Linked DNA regions of Homo sapiens: regions 2, 3, 4, 5, 6 and 7 are each linked to region 1. The links are contacts of gene promoters, found by promoter capture Hi-C in blood cells and fetal thymus (Javierre and others, 2016). All regions are on one chromosome and are shown on one strand. The core of a region is centred on a gene start or on the middle of the fragment in contact, and the rest is flanking DNA. Distances in the headings are between cores, read along the strand shown. Region 1 holds the start of GSG1L (GSG1 like). Region 2 overlaps SBK1 (SH3 domain binding kinase 1). Region 3 overlaps GSG1L (GSG1 like). Region 4 has its middle 15 kb from the start of SBK1. Region 5 has its middle 25 kb from the start of XPO6. Region 6 overlaps GSG1L (GSG1 like). Region 7 has its middle 3.8 kb from the start of XPO6.

Region 1 (2,824 bases), core at 116-2,615:
TTAACCTTGAATTCTGCAAGGCCTGCCACTCGGCAAGCCGGGGGTTGTCGGAGCAGTTCTCAGCTTGGGCAGAATTCAAATGAGCTCTTATAATCAACATGCAATTAATTGTTGCACGCCCTGAGCATCTGGGCAGTAAGTGCTGTGCAGCGCGAAGGGAGTTCAGGGAGCGTGGTCATCTTAGAGCAGAGGTGGGGACGGGGTTGCACACAGTTTCCACGTTGCACAGGAGAGCCTGAAGAGGTTTGTCTGAGTTTGGTCAACTGATCTTGGTTCAGATGTCAGTAACAGTGAATTATTAATTGAGTCTACTGTGTGCCAAATGCTTTTTGCAGCCATGATCTCATTACAGCAGCCCACTGTGATATACCTTGAAGGGGGGGGGGTCCTCCCTTTTTTATAGTTATGGAAATTGAGGCTCAGAGAGGGTAAGTGACCTGTTCAAAGCCACACAGCTGGTCAAGCCCTAGATATGCTTGATCCCAAAGTCAGTATGTTTGGCCACCCTGCCCCCACCCGAATCTTGAAGATTCTACCCACATTCACATGGTGTGCATGTGAGCAGGGTTGGCAGCCCCTGTAGGGCACCACTGCCTGGTAGCTGCAATAACTTTGTGGCCGGCATGGGCCCTCCTAGGGTTCTGCTGTTTGGGATCTCAGGTGGGTGCAGTGGGCTGTCTGGGGTACCCTGTTGCCACTCTTCCTGCAGTTGCATGCCATGGTTGGGAGCCCAGATGACAGTTTCATCCTTGGAGGGGAGCTCTTCCCAGATGCTGGAGGTGACACCCAGGAGACAGAAAAACGTTTCAAACCCTATAACCCAATACTCCAGGAGGGGCGCCTCCTGACAGATTCTGCCACTCCAAGTCCAGCATGGGTTGTCTTATCCAGGGGGTCTTGCAGCTCCCTGGCTGTGGGAAGCCCTGCAGGCTCTGCTGTTTAGAACCTTTGGAAAAACTCCTTTCTCAGGGTCTGGTGCGGGGGTCCTTTTGGGGATCCCCTTCTGGGACAGGGTCCTGCTGGTCCGTGTCCCTCTTGGGGAGCCCCAGCAGGCTCTGCCCTTGTCTCCTGGGGCAGGGCCTCTCTGGGTCTCATGAGATGCCCGCTCCCGGCGGGTTTTGTTGCCCCACGTCCGCCGTGGGGATCTTTTCTCAGGAGCGCCTTGCCTGGGATTCTCCTTGCGTCTCAGACCCTCACCCTGGCTCGGATTTCTTTCGGGGGCGTCCCTCCACTCCCAGGCCCCCGCCCGCGCCCGGCGTGGCGGCCCCCTCTCCCCGTGCGGGCGGGCTCCGGAACAGTGTCGCCGGCCGCCTGCAGGTGTCTCCCCACGGAGGGGCGCGCGTCCCTGCGCCGTGGCCGCTGCCAGGCGCCAGCGGCTCCTAGCCGAGGTGCACTCGCGCTCCGGGCTCCGGGCGCGCCGTAGCCGCTCCTCCACCGCCGCCCGCCCCGCCAGCCCGCCCCGCACGCCCCCCGCGCCGCGCCCCCACCCCGGGGTTGGGGGGGGCATGGGCCCGCGCCGCGTCCGCCGCCGCCGATCTCAGGCACCCGAGCCCCGGGGCGCGGCGGGCAGCGGCCGCTGACGCGGGGCGCCAGCTGCCAACTTCGCGCGCGGAGCTCCCCGGCGGTGCAGTCCCGTCCCGGCGGCGCGGGCGGCATGAAGACTAGCCGCCGCGGCCGAGCGCTCCTGGCCGTGGCCCTGAACCTGCTGGCGCTGCTGTTCGCCACCACCGCTTTCCTCACCACGCACTGGTGCCAGGGCACGCAGCGGGTCCCCAAGCCGGGCTGCGGCCAGGGCGGGCGCGCCAACTGCCCCAACTCGGGCGCCAACGCCACGGCCAACGGCACCGCCGCCCCCGCCGCCGCCGCCGCCGCCGCCACCGCCTCGGGGAACGGCCCCCCTGGCGGCGCGCTCTACAGCTGGGAGACCGGCGACGACCGCTTCCTCTTCAGGAATTTCCACACCGGCATCTGGTACTCGTGCGAGGAGGAGCTCAGCGGGCTTGGTGAGTGCGCGCGGGCGGCGGCCAGCTCGGCTCCGGCTCCCCCGGGGCGGCGCGGCCATCGAGGCCCGAGCCCCGGACCCGTTCGCCCTCCTCCCGCCGCCTGGGCCCAGCTCCCAGCGCTCCGCCTGGCTAGGGGCGACGTTCCGGGGCAGGGGGCGCGCGCCGTTCCGGGGCCGGGGACCAGCATGGGGGGACGTGCGGGACGCCCCGCCGTGGAGAGGTGCAAGGCAGAGCTCCTACCCGCTGCGGACGCCCCGCGGCTTTGGGGACGCTCCCGCGCCCCGGGAAGGCGCCCACCCCCGCTGCCGGTCGGAGGGGCGCGCGCTGCTTTCCGCTCCTGAACTCATCTCCACGCTCGCCCCCTCCTCCTCTTCCTTTCGCGGGGCACTAGATGCCCCCACCCACCCCGGAACGCCCCTGGGGGTGGGGGTGATGCAGGGACTCCTGCTACCAGCCGCCCCTCCTGCCGCAGATCCACAGACCCGGGAGCCTTCCACCCCCATCGCCAACCCACGCCGAACCTCCCAGACGGGAGTGGGGAGTGGGGGAGTCCCGCGGGCTCCCGGAAAGCCGCACCCGCCCAGAGGCACCCCTATTGCCAGACGCCAGGGAGCCCTCTGTATCCTGGCCCCCTCCTGGGAGAGGCAGGCTAGGGAACTGGGGACAGCTGGGCAAACTCCGGGTCGAGGAGTCCAGGAGGGCTTAGCTTAGCACAAGGCTCCTATTAGGTTCGGTGGGGGACTGACTTTTCAGAAGGCAGATCAGACTGTCCCCTTTGCCTGGACCCCCTCCTCTACCCTCCAGAGGCAGCCTGGGCTGGA
Region 2 (2,824 bases), core at 99-2,598, 240 kb before region 1:
CTCTCCTGCCCTCCCCAGTGAGGCACTGTGAAAGGCAGGGGTCCTGGGTCCTATCCTCCTGGCTACTGGAGGGTGCAGGGCCCGGGGCAGCCCCCAGGGGTGTGGGATAAGCTGGGGAGGTCTTCCCAGCCTGGCTGCCTGGGTGAGGCAGGTGGCCCAGCACTCAGGGGTATCAACAGGAGTGCAGGATGCTGGGCACAGTAGGTGCCCACCACTGGCTGACAGGCAAGGGGACTGGGCTGAATGTCTACCAGTGGACAAGTGGTGGTCTCTGGTGAGATGGCTGGGTGAACAGAGGCCCCAGAAGAGATGGGCCCTTCTCCAGCTGCATCCTTCACCTCCTTTGCCTCCCTGAGCTCCTACACCGGGATGGACTGAAGACAGCCCAGCCTAGGAGCCTGCGGTCCAGGTTCAGGCTTTCACCGCCATTTCTAGCCTGGAAGCTTTGGATCTGCCACTTACCGTCTCCCCATTTCCCCATCCTCAGTAAAGTGAAATAATAAAATAACAGTGCAGTTTAGGGTACTATTAGTAATAGCCAACATTTATGAGCCACTGAAAGTATAAGCACTGTATATATATTGACTCATTTCAACTTCATGACAATCTCAGGAGAAGCTATTATTAATCCCCTTACATCCTTTACAGTTCAGGAAACTGAGACTCTGAGATAGGAAGCTTGGCCAGGCACAGCGGCTCAAGCCTGCAATCCAAGCACTTTGGGAGGCTAACACAGGCAGATGGCTTGAGCCTAGGAATTCAAGATGAGCCTGGGCAACATAGCAAGACCCCATTTCTATAAAACATTAAAAAAAAAATGAGCCAGGCATGGTGGCATGCGCCTGTGGTCCTAGCTAGTCGGGAGGCTGAAGCGGGAGGATCACTTGAGCCTGGAAGGCCAAAAGTGCCATGAGCTGTGATGACGCCACTGCACTCCAGCCTAGGCAACAGAGTGAGATCCCATCTCAAACAAACAAACAAACAAACAAACAAAAAAGAGAGATAGGAAGCTTAAGTGATGTGTCCTGTGTCACACAGCTAAGAAGTCACGTAGAGATCATCTATCTGGCTCCAAAATATTCAATAAGTATTTGTTGAGCACCTACTATGTACTTGGTACTATTTTTGGGTCTGGAATACATTCGTGAACCAAACAAACTGTCCTGCCCTCAAAGAGCTCATATTCTAGTTTGGAGGCACACAGTGACAAAGATGAGCAGGAGATGTGTGTCAGGCAGTGAGAAGTCCTCAAGGAACAGCAGAGCGGGAAAGAGGCAAGGGAATTGTGGGTGGGAGGCCAGCCCATGGAGAAGGCTGCATGCACATAGGCATTGTGGTGGGCGGGCTCTCCTGGCAGAGGGCACTGTGTGGAGGCCTAGAGGTGGGACCTGCTGTGTGCACAGGGATAAGGGAGTGAAGGGCAGGAGATGAGAGCAGAGGTGAGAAGGGATGGCTGTTGTCATTCAGGGCCTCCGAGGCCATGGCGGGGACCTGGCTTCCACTCCAAGTGGGATGCACTCCAAACCCCAAACCTGAACAAACCCTTCCTGAAGCCAACCTGGCCTGGAGAAGTGAAAAGTGACAGTGTCAACCTGACCCGATCAGACTCAGAAACTCCGAGGCCAGCTGTGGCAGCATCGCACACTGTTCTTGGAGTGGGGCTGAGGAGGGGGTGGGGGAAGCTTAGAGGTTTCTCGGGGAGGCCTGGGGCAAGTGCTGCAGATTCCTCCCTGACACAGTTCTCACTGCCATGGCCCCGTGTAAGTGGAAGCGTGGGGCAGGAAATCTAGCCCTGGAGCTCAGGCGAGGTCCCATCAGGTCCATTTGACTGGCCTTGGCTTGTGGACCATGTGTGAATGGTATCAAGGGAGGCAGACTCTTCCCTAAATCCCAGCTACGGAATCTTGAGGAAACAGCTTCACCCATACACCTCCAGTTTTTCCATCTGTAAAGATGGGGCTAACTTTCCCTTTCTGCTCAGGGCTTTGAGGACTTATATGAACAACAAACCCTTAATGGGTACTGGGTGCCATTCATGGCACTTTACATTCATTCTCTTACTCCTCACAGTGACCCTAAGAGGCAAGTACTAATATCATCCCCCTTGTTTACAGATGAGGGACCTGAGGCACAGAGAGATTAAGCACCTTGTCCAAGGTCACCCAGCTGAATCTAGGGATTGCGTTTTTTACCACTAAGCTGTGTTATCTGTGGGCCCCATTGTGCCTCCTGGAGACACCTAGGGTCAGGGCTGGCAGGCACCTGAGCTCCCAAGGTGGAAAAGTCTCCTCTCTGCAAGGCCTTGAGCCCTGGCTCAGAAAGTCACAAATTATGCTCATGGATAGGTAAACCCCTTCTGGCTATGGTGGGGGACCCTAACAAACCCAGAAAAGCTGCCCTGGAGGCAGTGGGGGCCCAGCGCTATACAGCCTCTCTGGGCCCAGATCAGAAGGAGGAGGATGGTCCCCTCCAGCCCCACCCGTGCCCTGTCTCCCAGCCCCTTGGGGCCATCCCAAAGCCCAGAGGCAGTTGGAACATCCTCTGCCCCTCTGGTGGTTGCCTAAAGCCATGAGGAAGGAGTGCTAGTGCAGTGGGAGATCACAGCAGTTCCCTGGGCCTGGATCAGCTCATTTGCATACCCCGGCAGGGAAGGCCAGAGCAAACACTTAAGCAGCAGGCCCTGCTCAAGCGCTTCATCTGCAACAGATCCACTTAATCCTCACAACAACTTTAGGAAGTGGCAGCTATTATTGTCTCCATTCTACGTCAGAGGAAACTGAGGCCCAGGAGACAACTGACCTGCCCAAGGTCACGCAGCCAGAGA
Region 3 (2,824 bases), core at 144-2,643, 220 kb after region 1:
TACTGGAGAGGAGAACAGCTCTGAGAAGAGATGGCACCCACCTCTGTCTTCCTGCCCAGCAGGGAAGAACAAGCTGCAGGGTCTCTGGAAGCTGGAGGGGTTTTGAGGCGCTCAAAGCCGGTTGAGTGCCGGTTTCTTAGAGGGACACCTTTGCAAGAAGTAGAAGGTCTCCATGGTTAAGAGTCTGACAGCCTGGGGTTCAAATCTCACCCCGACATACACTGCTGGGCCACTGTGGCAGCGTGGAGGGGCGGTCAAGGGTGTGGCTCCTGGAGTCAGACAGTTCAGGTTCAGATCCTGCCCCTGCCCCTCACCAGCCGGGGACCTTGGCCAAGTCACTTACCTCCTCTGCACCTCTGTGTCCTCAGCTGGAAAATGGGACAGCCCGAATTTCCGCCTCATGGGGGTCTCTTGAATTGTATTCCATTTCTCTGTTGAGGTGTACACATCACCCCCAAATCTAGTAAAAAATATGTTATTATGTAGTAATAATAGTAACTAGTAAAAATGTGTTGTTATTTGTTCTTACGTTTGGTGGTGGACCGGGCTCATCTGGGTGGTGCTTGCTGGGTTCTTCCTCGAAGCTTCAGTTGGATGTCACCTGAAGCTGAGGTCATCTGGGGCGTGGCTGGGGTGGACCTCCAAGGTGGCACCTCATGACACTGGCAGCTGGTGCCGGCTGGCGGTGGCTGGCGGCCGGAGGGGCTTCACACAGCCTGGAGGCTGGGTCCTTGGGGAGACTATCTCAAGAGTGAGTGTTCCAGGAGACCCAGGTGGAAACCACAGTATCTGCATGAGCCAACCTCAGAAATCACACAGTGTCACTCCTGCTGCATTCTATTGGTTAAGAGCAAGTGACAGGGCCAGCTTCAAGGGGAGGCATGAACCGCGGGAGGTGTGGCTCCCTGGAGGCCAGCTTTGGAGACAGTAACCAACACGAGGAGCTAGTGAATCAATGCATGTGGAGCACTCAGCACAGAGTTTGCTCGGTGAGTGCGAGCCCTCCTGCCCACTCCTCCTTTTGGCGCCATGTCTCAGCTCTCCCTACCTGTGACAACGTCAGGTCAGGACCCTGATGGGCGCCCAAGCAGCTGCTTGGCTTAACGTGGCAGGGACCAAGTGAATCAGATTAAGGTTGGGGCCGAGCAAAGTGGCTCACCTGTAATCCCAGCACCTTGAGAGGCCAAGATGGGAGAGGGGCTGGGCAAAGTGACTCACCTGTAATCCCAGCACCTTGGGAGGCCAAGGTGGGAGAATCGCCAGAGGCCAGGAATTCAAGACCAGCCTGGGCAACATAGCCAGACCCAATCTCTAAAACAATAAAAAATAAAAATAATTAGCTGGCTGTGGTGGTGCACACCTGTAGTCCCAGCCACTCAGGAGGGTAAAGTGAGAGGGACACTCAAGCCCAGGAGGTTGAGGCTGCAGTGAACTGTGTTCGTGCCACTGCACTCCAGTCTGGGCTGGAGGTTCTGTCTCAAAAAAAAAAAAAAAAAAAAAGATTAAGGTTACTACACCTACTTTGTGCTGTGCACAGTGGGAGGCACTTTACAAGCCCCGAGTTGCCTGGTCCTGTCACTGATCCCCAGGAGAGGGGCTGCCATCCCCCTTCAGGGACCAGGAAACAGGTTGAAAGCCACACAATTAGCCTTGGATACTGTGAACTGCATGCAGCCGGGGCTGAACCCAGCCTGCGGATGATTTCTTAGGCCTGCCATTGTGTCTTATAAAAGTTTGGATTTATTTCTAACATCTAAAATGGTAAAACTTCTACATAAAAGTCCAGGTTTCTGATTCATGATCATTGGAAGATCTGTTCCTGCACAACCAGCATTGCCACCAGGCAGCCTGGAGATAAGGCTGAGAATGACTGAAACTTTAGATAGGCATCTGGTCTCCAGCTCACCCCAGTCCCCACCACACCCTATTGCCTTACATTTACCCACGCTTCCACACTTAGTCATCATCTGCCTGACCTTGCAGGAATTTGAGTCTGTGGCCCCTGCTTGGAATGTCAGCTTTCCTGGTGACAGCAGGAGTGTGGAAAGCTAGCCTTGCGCTTTCTGCTTCTGTTTTGCCTTTTATCAGTCTGGAGAGAAATGGAAAAAGTTCTCCTCTTACTCCTGCACACACAGTGAAATCTTATCTCAAGCATTCACTCTGCAGACTGAGGGTAGTGGGACATCGTGGTGTGGAAGCTTATAAGAGCTGGAGGGCCCAGAGAAGTTATGCAGTTTGGCCCATGTCACACAGCAAGAGAGTAGCAAGTTGGGCCAGATCTAGGGAAGGTTCTCACTCCTGTCCTAGTGGCCCCTTTCTGTTTCTGGGGCCCTGTCCCTGTGGAATATAGGCCTCACTGCTGTCCCTCCCTTTCTAGTCTCCATGACTATGTGGAAACAGCAGACCAGCCTCTTTCCTCTCTGGGGACCCCAGGCGGCCCCTTTGCTCTCTGGAGGGGTTAGCTGGTATTCCAGCAGGCCAATCCCTTAAGGGGTTGAGTCTGCTGCTGTGACCCTACCAGAGCCTGGGCCCCAAAGACAACTGGAGAGGGTGTGTGTGCTGATGTCTCTGCTGAGAGGCTGTGTGATCAGCAGGAAGTCTGCCCTTACTCATCAGCCTGAGGCAGGTGGCTGCGGCCTCCTTTATTCTAAGACCAGGGTTGGGGAAAGGGATGTGGCTGCCCAAGGGTGCCCTGTGGGCCATGGAGGGACCAGCTGGGCCCTCAGAGCCTGCCACTATCCAGCTCCTAGTCCCATCAGCTCTTGGGCCCTGAGGGTGGCCTGGATTATGCATCTGTGCCCAGCCGTGCCCCACATGGTGAATC
Region 4 (2,824 bases), core at 118-2,617, 210 kb before region 1:
TGTACACCTGACACCGATCCTGCCCTCACCCAGGCCCCTGGCTGGGGACAAACGGCAGCAGTGGTGACTGTTGTCGGGGTGAGTAGTTGGCTGAGAACCTGCCTATGGGAGGTGGTCGGAGTGTGATCATGCCTGGTATGAGGCAGGGGCTCCAAGGCCTGGGCACATGCCCCACCGGCCCATCAGACTCCCCTTACAAATTCAAAGATGAAATTATTAAGAATTTCAAACTGGGGCTGAGATCGCGCCATTGAACTCAGCCTGGGTGATGGAGTAAGACTCTGTCTCAAAATAAGATAAATAAATAAATAAAATAGAATAGAATAAAATAAAATAATAATTAAAAATTTCTCAGGCGTGGTGACACCTGCCTGTAGTCCCAGCTACTCAGAAGACTGAGGCAGGAGGATCGCTTGAGCCTGGGAGGCTGAGGATGCAGTGAGCCAGGATCAGGACACTGCACTCCAGCCTGGGTGACAGAGCAGGATCCTGCCTCTAAAACAAAGGCGGGGTGGGTGAGGTGGGGTGGGGTGAGGGAGGTGGCTGCCTCCTCTCTTTCCCTGTCCTAGACACTGCCTACCTCCCCCTGCTCTCCCCTGCCCCAAAGTCGATCTCAGTCTCTCTCCCGGGACCGGATGTGGCCTGGGGAGGGCTGGGCGGAGGAGCTGCAGGAGAAGCGGAGAGAGACGGAGGCCATGGCGAAGCCTCCCCTTCTCGCGGGGCCATTCGTTCCCCACTGGACGCTGCTCTGCCTGCGTGGCCTCGGGCATCCTCACACCACCTTAGAAGGTCGGACTTATAGCTGTGCCCATTTTATGGCTGACCAAACAGGGTCACAGAGCTTTTGTGTAACCTGGCTGAGGCCACACGGCCCGGACGTAGCGGGCCTGGGGCCAAGCCCAGGGTTCTGTGGCTAAACAAGAGACTTTGTCCGCGGAATCCGCCGCTTGCCGGCCGGTCCGCATATGTGAGCACAACACGCCCTCTAGTGGCCGTTTCGCCGTAGTGCAGGACGATCTGAGGGACCGCGGCGCGCGCTCTGTCTCTGTCTCTGTTCTATCTGGTTCTCGAGGGCAAGACCACGACATTTCCATCTTCTGATCGCCCACAACCCAGGACATGAATCCCCTCCCCAGCTGGTCCACTCGAGGTCCCCGGTCTGTGCCAGCCCCAGAGTACCTTTTAAAATTTGTATTTTGGAGAAAGGGTCTCACTGTCGCCCAGGCTGGAGTGCAGAGGTGTGATCATGGCTCACTGCAGCTTCCACCTCCTGGGCTCATGCGATCCTCTTGCCTCAGGACTACAGACGAGCACTACCATGCTCGGCTAATTTAATTTTTTGTGGAGACGGGGGTCTCACTGTATTGCTCAGGCTGGTCTCAAACTCCTGGTCTCAAGTGATCTTCCTGCCTGGGCCTCCCAAAGCACTGGGATTACAGGCGTGAGCCACCATTCCCCACCTTAGAGTGCCTTCTTGTTACTCCCCTGTTGTCTTTTTTTTTTCTCTCTCTCTCTCTCTGTCTCTATGTTTACACCGTGGTTCTCAAACTCCGGGGAGCTTTCAAAAGTCCCCACGCAGCCACACCCCAGAGCAAATGAATCCGTTTCCTCTCTCACCATCTTTAAGTTTGTGGGGTACAAACCTCAGAGAACAGAGGAGTTCTCAGCAGCCTCCAGCAGCCTCTCAGCTCCCTGACCTCCTCCCGTCCCCTTCGACCCTCTCCTCTGCAAGCCCCTTGGCCACCGCTCCCAGGCCCACACCCCAGCCTGCGTAACGACCCCACACCTCACCTGCTCTGAGTTCTCTATTTCAGGCACTCCCCCCTCTGCTCTGCCCTTCTATCCTCTTCATCGCTTGCCCTGGTACCTGCAGGCATCAGCTTCAATCCACCGCCCGGGAGCTGTGGCTCACGCCTGTAATCCCAGCACTTTGGGAGGCCGAGGCAGGCAGATCATGAGGTCAGGAGATCAAGACCATCCTGGCTAACACGGTGAAACCTTGTCTCTACTAAAAATACAAAAAATTAGCCGGGCGTGGTGGCGGGCGCCTGTAGTCCCAGCTACTTGGGAGGCTGAGGCAGGAAAATCACTTGAACCCGGGAGGCGGAGGTTGCAGTGAGCCAAGATCGCACCACTGCACTCCAGCCTGAGCAACAGAGTGAGACTCCGCCCCTAAATAAATAAATAAATACATAAATAAATAAATAAAATAAAAACTTCAATCCACCACCTGCAGCACTTTCTCACTACCCAGCAACCCCCTTCTGCCACCACCACGATGGCCTCCTGGAAAACACGCCCACTCCCATGCCCACCTGTCCTGCTATAGGACCAACCTGGCACAGCGCTAGCCAGGCATCCGCTCTCTGCCTGCACCAAGCAAGCCAACACTGCCTGGGAGGGTCACCCCGCAGCTGCCAGTGCCCCGTCTCATTCAGGGGCGCGGGTCTTGGAGAGGCACTCAGCAGAGTGCCCCCAACCTCCGCCCTCACTATGCCTCCCAGTTGCTTTTTCCTGCCCTTTCTGAGCAGCTTCTGAAACTGTAATTCGCCTGTGAGTCTCCTAGGGGTCTTGGTGAGGCCCGAGATTCCGCATTCCATCCCGCCAGCCCCCAGGGGTGCTGACGTTGCTGTCCGTGGAGCCCACTCTGTAGCAAGGTCTGGGATGACTTCCCACCTCCTCCTCTCTCCTCAAACAAACCGTGGCTCCCACTTTGCTGAGAAAACAGATGGATGAGATACATTTCCACTGCCTCCGCCATCAAACCACAACCCCTCCTCCAGCCTCCCTCCTCCTCCACTTCTTCCATCCGCTTCAGTGGCAG
Region 5 (2,824 bases), core at 174-2,673, 170 kb before region 1:
CGAGCAGCTGGGATTACAGGCACACGCCACCATACCCAACTAATTTTTGTATTTTTAGTAGAGATGGGGTTTCACCATATTGGCCAGGCTGGCTTCAAACTCCTGACCTCAGGCCATCTCCAGCCTCGGCCTCCCAAAGTGCTGGGATTACAGGCATGAGCCACTGCACCCAGCCTATTACAGTTTTTTTTTTTTCCAGATATTTTTGACCTGTGGTTGGTTGAATCTGTGGTTGCAGAACCTGAGGATGTGGAGAGCTGGCTGTTTTTTGCCATGGCAGCCCTCACATACTAATGCAGTGCATTTCCCATTCATGTCAAATACATCTGAAGGCAAGTGGTCCAAGATGCTATGGCCACAACACAGAGTCTCACGCTCCACTTTCTCATCCACCTTCTATTTGCAAGGTCACTTCTTGGGCCAACATGGCTGCTGGAACTGCCTTACTCCAAGCAACAAGGAAGTGGGGAGAAAGCTTGTGTTCCTTCCTTTTAAGGCAACTTCCTACAAGTCCCATAGAGCCATTTTGCTTACATCTTATTGGCCACCGCTTAGTCACATGATGACACCTAGCTGCAAGGGAGGCTGGGAAATGTACCCAGCTAGAAGTAAAAGTTTATTCCTAAGGAGAAGGGGGAGAATGGATGCTGGGAGAGGTACCCAGTGGTCTCTGCCACAAACTATGATCTCAGACCACATACTGAAGAAGGCATGAAGAACTTTCTTACTTTTTCCATAAATCAGCATACTTTCTCTTCCTTTCCTTTCCATTCCTTTTTCTTTTTTTTTTCTTTTTTTTTTTTTGAGACAGAGTCTCACTCTGTTGCCCAGGCTGGAGTGCAGTGATATAATCTCAGCTCACTGCAGCCTCTGCCTCCCTGGTTCAAGCGATTCTCCCACCTCAGCCTCCTGAGTAGCTGCGATTACAGGTGCACACCACCATGCCTGGCTAATTTTTATATTTTTAGTAGAGATGAGGTTTCACCATGTTGGCCAGGCTGGTCTCAAACTCCTGACTCAGGCGATGCACCTGCCTTGGCCTCCCAAAGTGCTGGGATTATAGGCATGAGCCACCATGCTTGGCCACTCAGCATAATTTCTATTGCAAGCTAAGATGGCATTTTCACCTATGTGAATGTGTATATTTCTTGGTAACTTTTGAAGTGCCAAACTATGGTGGGCAGTGTCTGTACTGAAGTCCTCTGTCCATGCAGGTGTGCCTGAGACATCACCCCTCAGCCATTGACCCCCTGGCTTTCAGCTTACACAGGCTGCTTGTTTCTGTCTGTGCAGCTCCTTCTGCCTCTCAGGACCATGCTCAAGGCTCAGAGAATGTTCCACTACTCTCATGCCCACTGAGAACTAGGGCATTGTGTGAAGCATTCTCCCCTCTGCTCTTTTTTTTTCTTTTTGAGACAGGATCTTGCTCTATCCCTCAAGCTGGAGTGCAGTGGTGTATCATGGTTCACTGCAGCCTCAACCTCCTGGACTCCAGCAATCCTCTTATCTCAGCCTCCTGAGTAGCTGGGACTACAGGTGTGCACCACCATGTCTAGCTTACCTTTGTATTTTTTTGCAGAGATGGGGTTTCGCCATGTTGCCCAGGCTGGTCTCCAACTCCTGCACTCAAGTGATCCCCTGTCTTGGCCTCCCAAAGTGTTGGGATTACTGACGTGAGCCACCATGCCTGGTCCCATCTGCTCTGGGCTTTCTCAAGCATCTCTCTGGAGTCTCATCGCTTTTCCCCAAAGAAGTGGAGTTCAGAGCTTTTCCCTCTGAGATTTCCCAAACTCTCTCTTTTTTTCCATTACTTCCCCTCTGCCTTTCTCTTTTCTCCCTACCCCAGGGGCATCTGAAAGTGACAAGTCCTATTTTTGGCCTTTATCTTTCTCCAATAAGGACTTAAGCTATTGGGATATAAAAGCCCGAAACTCATGGATTTTACCTGCTTTCCACCCTCTCCCATTTCTCTACTGAATATGAGACAAAGACAGGTTTTGGATTAACATTAGGGAAGAAAGAAGAAAATAAAATATCAGGCTAGACATGGTGGCTCACACCTGTAATCTCAGCACTTTGGGAGGCTGAGACGGGAGGATTGCTTGAGCCCAGAAGTTTGAGACCAGTCTGGGGAACATAGTAAGACTCCGTCTCTACAGATAATAATAATAATAATAATAGTAAAGGTTTTTTAAAATCAAGAAATTAAATAAAACATCAATCTGTGTCTCAAAAAATATTCTCCTGCCATATTTACAATAAAGTGTCCTGTGGTTGGCACTTTTTGGCATTCCTCACTTCCCTCTCTCTTGCTACTGCCACTATTTACAGTCTAGAAAAGCTACATTTTCTCAGCCTCTCTTGAAGCTTAGGGAGGTGGTATTTCCCAGTCCTGGTCAATAAGATAGGGACAGAAGGCTGTTCAAGGTTTACAGGAAAGCTTTGAAAAAAGAGGGTCCAGGTGTGGCTGACATCATTTCTTTCCCTCTGCTTCCTACTTATAATGTGAACATGGCTGGGTGCAATGGCTCACACCTTTAATCCCAGCACTTTGGGAGGCCGAGGTGGGTGAATCACCTGAGGTCAGGAGTTCGAGATCAGCCTGGCTAACATGGTGAAACTCTGTTTCTACTAAAAATACAAAAAATTAGCTGGAGGTGGTGGTGCATATCTGTAATCCCAGCTACTTGGGAGGCTGAGGCAGGAGAATTGCTTGAACCTGGGAGGTGGAGGTTACAGTGAGCTGAGATCATGCCATTGCACTCCAGCTTGGGCAATAAGAGTGAAACTCCATCTCAAAAAAAAAAACAAAAAAAAAAAAGGT
Region 6 (2,824 bases), core at 220-2,719, 170 kb after region 1:
AAAATAATTGTCATCTGATTCTGAAGGCCAAGGTCACCGTGACATATCTCACAGGCTCAGCAACTGTCCCCAGATTCCAAAAGAGCCATTTCTAAAGGGCACGTCTGCCAGAGACGTCTCTGAACTGACAAGGCCTGGAGGCTTGTGGAACTCTAGGGGCCAGAGGCATTGTCAAAATCCTTTCCAATGATAAACTAGTTTGTTCAGTTGTTGAGTGTGGAGGAGAAAGGACTTGTTTTTCTGGGCCCAGCCCATCAGCTTCATAGGCTGCCGTTTACAGAGGACCTAGAATGCTCCAAGAACTAGATGGGGGCTTTGCAGCCATTCCCTCATTAAAGTTGCCCAGAAAATCCTGTGAGATTGGTAGTGTGGACTCTGTTTTATAGCCAAAGAAACTGAGGCTCAGAGAGGTTAGGAAAAGGCCAAGGTCAAATCCATGTCTGTTTGACCTCAAGTCCAGGCTCACCCCACCACAGCGAGGTATCTCTGTGGAGGTGGTAGAGAAGCTTCCTTCTTTGCTAAGGTCGATCTAGGGGCCATGGTGGGGGCCACAGTGCGGGCTAGGGTGGTTCGGGGAGGAAGTGATTTTGAACAAAGAAAGGAAGTTGGCTGGGCATGGTAACTCATGCCTGTAATCCCAAAACTTTGGGAGGTCAACAGAGGAGGATTACTTGAGGCCAGGAATTTGAGACCACCCTGGGCAATAGGGTGAGACCTCATCTCTACAAAAAATTTAAAAAATTACCCAGACACAATAGAACGTGCCTGTGGTCCTGGAGACTTGGGAGGCTGAGGTGGGAAGATCACTTGAGCCCAGGAGTTGGAGGTTGCAGTGAGCTGTGATTCCACCACTGCACTCCAGCCTGGGTGATAGCACGAGACCCTGTCTCAAAAAGGAAGAAGAAAAAAAGGAGGTGTATTAGTTTCCTCTTGCTGATGTAACAAATTTCCACAAATTTAGAATTTAGTGCCTTGAAACAATATGGATTTATCTCACAGTTCTTGAGGTCAGAATTCCAAGATGAGACTTAAAAATCAGTGTTGGCTGGGCGTGGTGGCCCATGCCTGTTATCCCAGCACTTTGGGAGGCCGAGGTGGGGGGATCACCTGAGGTTAGGAGTTTGAGACCAACCTGGCCAAAATGGTGAAACACTGTCTCTGCTAAAAATACAAAAATTAGCCAGGCATGATGGTGTACGCCTGTAATCCCAGCTACTCGGGAGGCTAAGGCAGGAGAATCGCTTCAGCCTAGGTGGCGGAGGTTGTAGTGAGCTGAGATCGTGCCACTGCACTCCAGCCTGGGCAGCAGAGCGAGAATCTGTCTCAAACAAAACAAAGCAACAACAAAATACCAAAGTGTCAGCCGGACTGTGTTCCTTTCTGGAGGTTCAAGGGGAGAACTTGTCTCCTTGCCCTTTCTGTCTTCTAGAGGCCGCCTGCATTCCTTGGCTCATGGCCCCGCATCACTGCAACCTCTGCTTTTCCCATTGCATCTCCTTCTCTGTCTCTGACCCTCCTGTCTCCCTGTCATAATGACCCTTGTGATTACACTGGGCCAACCCAGATATCAGGATAATCTCCCCATCTCAAAATCTTTTTTTTCTATGCCTTCGACCTTTGACTTTTTAAAAAATTTAATTTAATTTTAAGTTCCAATATCCATGTGCAGGATGTGCAGGTTTGTTACATAGGTAAACGTGTGCCATGGTGGTTTGCTGCACCCATCAACCCATCACCTAGGTATTAAGGCCCATGTGCATTAGCTATTTATCCTTCCATCTCAAGATCTTAATCATGTCTGCAAAGTCCCTTGTGCCATGCAAGGTAACGTATCCTGGAAGTGAACAGCTTCCAGGGATTAGGAAGGGGACACCTTTGAGAGCCCTTATTCAGCCAGCCCCAGGGGCTTAGTCACATTCAAATGTCTTAGTGCAGCATTCAATGCCCTTGACACATGGTTCCCAAGCAGTCCTGCCCATCTCCACCCTGAGCACCCACCAGAAGGAAGTACAGCTGCAGGCTGAACATCTCATTTCCCGCACGCCTCCAGCATGCCCCACCCATTGGAGTGACCCCCTAGGCCAGTGCTCCTTACACTCCTATGTGCTTTGGAGTCAGCTAGGGACCTGATGACAATGCAGGTCTTCAGTCAGTAGGTCTGGGAGGGGCCAGAGATTCTATATTTTCTCCAGGGTCCCAGGGAATGCTGACGCTGCTGGTTTGTAGACCTCCCTTTGAGGATTGAGACTCTAGACAAGATGGTTATGCAGAAAACAGTCATCTCCAGGCCTGTGTTTCCACGGTAGCATGCCGATTGGCATCGGAATGGAATCACATCCCCACGTGCTCTGTTGCCCTACCTTTTTGCCCATCCCACTAAAGTATCCACTGAGGGTCTCTACTATGACCTGGAGTCAAAGCATAAAAGCTTTCCGGACTTATTAAAGGAAGATTCCGAGTGAGCGTCGTGACCTTGGGCAACTCACTCGCCCTCTCTGGGACTTTTTGGAAAGGATTTGGGGCTGGCTGGACAAGAGAACTTTCGGGAACAGCTGTCAGATCCATGCCCTTGGCTTAGAAAGTCAATTCAGGCGTCTGAGCTGAATGTCTTTCCTTTTCCTCTAACTCTGAAAATTGAGTTATGGGATTGTGTGGTGTTTGTTAGAACCCTGGACCATGGGGAAAGGTTTGCAGGATATTTCACCCCTATCTGTAGATATCAGGGGTCCATACAGGGTCTTAAAATGTTGCACGGCTGCAGTATCGGAGATAGAAATGACTGATTTCGTCGTATAGGGAGACAAGGCTGGAAACTCGAATGCTC
Region 7 (2,824 bases), core at 226-2,725, 150 kb before region 1:
TTTTCTTCTTCAACTGTTAAGAGTCCAAACTTTAGGGTCCCCACCTTGTTACTTGCAATGAAACGGACACAGTGGAAGACAGCTTGGAGTAGGAAAAGGACTGAAGACTGCAGCAGCCAGGTGAACTTCTATTCGTCCATCAAGACCCAACCCAAAGGTTACCATCTTTGTTGCTTCCTCCCCATTTCCTCGTACGCTTAGGAAGTTCATACACACCTCACAATGTGCTGTAATTATTTGGGTGGCTGTTGCTGACCCAGACAGTGGACAATTTGCCTGATTCTTATTCACTTTAAATACTTCATTTTTAGCAAAAGGCCTGGCACAAAGCTAATACTAACTCACTGAAAGTTTGTTGAATGAATAACTAAATGCAGGCGATCAAGGCAGTAGCAATAGAAATAGGCAGGCAGAGATGGCTGGGGGCCATCCCTGCAGTGCCAACTAAAAGTAATAGCAGCCTTAAATCTTTTTTTGGAATAAGACAGGCTTCAGATTAATATTAATAACAAAATGTTATTTAGTTTACTTGAACAAAATCCCTGGAGTCAAATTTATAATAGCTGTGACTTATCTCATGCCTCATGTGCCAGGTGTTTTATGTACATTAAATTAAATCTTCACCCCAGCCTGGCAATGGAGCTATGATGTGGTGACTCCACACATCCAGTTTATTCTGAGGAATTGAAAGCAACTCCAGGGGATTCTATAAGCCACTCATAGCAGTTCCACCCTCCTTCACTACGGCTAGATCCGGGGGACTAGGCCTAGGCCAATTAGGATCAGTAGGGAAAGCTTCTTGGCTTGAGAAAGGATGTGAGAAAGGTGCTCTCTCTTTTTTCTTTATTTTGAGATGGAGTCTCACTCTGTCACCCAGGCTGGAGTGCAGTGGTGCAATCTCGGCTCACTGCAACCTCTGCCTCCTGGGTTCAAGCAATTCTCCTGCCTCAGCCTCCTGAGTAGCTGGGACTACAGGCGCCTGCCACCATGCCCAGCTAATTTTTTTTTTTTTTTTTTTTGAGATGGAGTTTTGCTCTGGTTGCCCAGGCTGGAGTGCAATGGTGCAATCTCGGCTCACCACAACATCCGCCTCCCGGGTTCAAGCGATTCTCCTGCCTCAGCTTCCCAAGTAGCTAGGATTACAGGTATGCGCCACCACACCTGGCTAATTTTTTGTATTTTTAGTAGAGACGGGGTTTCTCCATATTGGCTAGGCTGGTCTCAAACTCTCGACCTTAGGTGATCCACCCACCTCGGCCTCCCAAAGTGCTGGGATTACAGGCATGAGCCACCATGCCCAGCCTCATTTTTGTATTTTTAAGTAGAGATGGGGTTTCACCAGTTGGCCAGGCTGGTCTCAAACTGCTGACCTCAAGCGATCCATCCACCTTGGCCTCCCAAAGTGTTGGGGATTACAGGTGTGAGCCACTGTGCCCGGCCAAAAGGTGCTCTCTTTTGCTGGATTTGAACAGGGAATTTTGTGGCCCTGGCTGTTCCTGGCAACCACCTTGACAACAAGTCTGATAATGGAGAAGAGCAGAGCAAGGAAGTCCTAGAGGAATGGCCGGGCGTGGTGGCTCATGCCTGTAATCCCAGCACTTTGGGAGGCCGGGGTGGGCAGATCACTTGAGCTCAGAAGTTGGAGACTAGCCTGGGCAACACAGTGAGACATTGTCTTTGCTGAAAAAAAAAAAATCAGCTGGGCATAGTGGCGCACACCTGTAGTCCCAGCTAACTGGGAGTTTAAGGTGAGAGGCTTGCTTGAGCTTGGGAGGTCGAGACTGCAGTGAGCTGTGATTGCGCCACTGCACTCTAGCATGGAGAACAGACTGAGACCCTGTCTCAAAAAAATAAAACAAAACAAAACAAACAAACAAACAAACAAACACACACAAAACCACACACAGAAAAAAAAGAAAATCCTAGAGGAATGGATCTAGGCCTCCCATCACACCCAGCCAAAAGCTAATGAATCTCTGGAAGTCCAGTTATGTAACCCAAAGGCATACCCTTAAGTGAGTCAGTTGCATTTCTGTTATCTCATTCAATTTTACAGTAAGGAAACCAAGACTTCGAGAGTCAATAACTCAAGATACCTTAGCTAGTGAAGTTAAGAGCTGGATTCCACTCCAAATGAGTCTCAACCCAAAGCTTTCACTCATCCTACTAAACTAAGCCAAGTAAGTGACTTGGCCTCCATTCCGATTCATCAGCTTACCTACTGAGATGGCTTCTCTTGTACATGCTGTTTCTACTGCCTGGAATGTTCTATGCCCCCTCTCTTTGCCTAGCAAACTCCTGCTTCTTTAAGGCCAAAGCTTAAAGAAATGTCACTTCCTGACTTCCTCCCCATCCTAATCTGCCAGATTATTTTAGATCCCTTGGCCTTATTAGCGTGTAAACTATATTAAAGTTATATCATGTTAGTTTCAATTTTTCCTTCATTGCTCTTATCACAATAACTGATCCATTATTGTACAATATTTTACAAATAATTTGTCTTTAAATTCCATAAGGGCACACATATATTTGTTTTGCTCAGCATTGAATCCTTGAAATAGTGACTGTCACTTAGTGGACAACAATAAAGATTTGATAAAATAAATGTGCTTGAGGCTGGGCATGGTGGCTCATGCCTGTAATCCCAGAACTTTGGGAGGTCGAGGTGGGCGCATCACTTGAGGTCAGGAGGTGAGACCATCCTGGCCAACATGGCGAAACCCCGTCTCTACTAAAAATACAAAAATAAATTTAGCTGGGTGTGGTGGCAGGTGCCTGTAATCCCAGCTACTTGGGAGGCTGAGGCAGGAGAATTGCTTGAACC

The links. Contacts are between HindIII fragments. The CHiCAGO score rates a contact against its expected background, and 5 or more counts as called.
Region 2: a fragment that was not itself captured here is called in contact with the fragment with the promoter of GSG1L in region 1 in 1 of 17 cell types (neutrophils); the score reaches 5.7 in neutrophils.
Region 3: a contact is called between a fragment that was not itself captured here and the fragment with the promoter of GSG1L in region 1, in 1 of 17 cell types (M1 macrophages). The highest score is 5.4, in M1 macrophages.
Region 4: a fragment that was not itself captured here is called in contact with the fragment with the promoter of GSG1L in region 1 in 1 of 17 cell types (neutrophils); the score reaches 10.1 in neutrophils.
Region 5: a fragment that was not itself captured here is called in contact with the fragment with the promoter of GSG1L in region 1 in 4 of 17 cell types (neutrophils, monocytes, M2 macrophages and 1 more); the score reaches 17.4 in neutrophils.
Region 6: a fragment that was not itself captured here is called in contact with the fragment with the promoter of GSG1L in region 1 in 3 of 17 cell types (M1 macrophages, M2 macrophages and M0 macrophages); the score reaches 6.1 in M1 macrophages.
Region 7: a fragment that was not itself captured here is called in contact with the fragment with the promoter of GSG1L in region 1 in 1 of 17 cell types (neutrophils); the score reaches 6.0 in neutrophils.

Annotation. Positions count from the first base shown.
Region 1 is chr16:28,062,255-28,065,078 of GRCh38, reverse strand. GSG1L (GSG1 like) reads left to right here and starts at 1,365. Exons shown (of 7, transcript NM_001109763.2): 1 at 1,365-2,003. The coding sequence starts at 1,655. The HindIII fragment of the contact is 8,058 bases long and covers 1-2,824 here.
Region 2 is chr16:28,298,481-28,301,304 of GRCh38, reverse strand. The region is part of intron 1 of SBK1 (SH3 domain binding kinase 1); the gene reads right to left. Among named protein-coding and RNA genes, the nearest start is that of SBK1, 7.4 kb to the right of the region's middle. The HindIII fragment of the contact is 672 bases long and covers 1,013-1,684 here.
Region 3 is chr16:27,838,709-27,841,532 of GRCh38, reverse strand. The region is part of intron 4 of GSG1L (GSG1 like); the gene reads left to right. Among named protein-coding and RNA genes, the nearest start is that of GSG1L, 220 kb to the left of the region's middle. The HindIII fragment of the contact is 1,614 bases long and covers 587-2,200 here.
Region 4 is chr16:28,276,032-28,278,855 of GRCh38, reverse strand. It overlaps a transcript of SBK1 not described here. Among named protein-coding and RNA genes, the nearest start is that of SBK1, 15 kb to the left of the region's middle. RefSeq lists a silencer at 874-1,168. The HindIII fragment of the contact is 3,981 bases long and covers 1-2,824 here.
Region 5 is chr16:28,235,846-28,238,669 of GRCh38, reverse strand. No RefSeq gene overlaps it. Among named protein-coding and RNA genes, the nearest start is that of XPO6, 25 kb to the right of the region's middle. The HindIII fragment of the contact is 1,892 bases long and covers 478-2,369 here.
Region 6 is chr16:27,895,383-27,898,206 of GRCh38, reverse strand. All of the region lies in intron 2 of GSG1L (GSG1 like), which reads left to right. Among named protein-coding and RNA genes, the nearest start is that of GSG1L, 170 kb to the left of the region's middle. The HindIII fragment of the contact is 1,922 bases long and covers 509-2,430 here.
Region 7 is chr16:28,214,387-28,217,210 of GRCh38, reverse strand. No RefSeq gene overlaps it. Among named protein-coding and RNA genes, the nearest start is that of XPO6, 3.8 kb to the right of the region's middle. The HindIII fragment of the contact is 1,356 bases long and covers 798-2,153 here.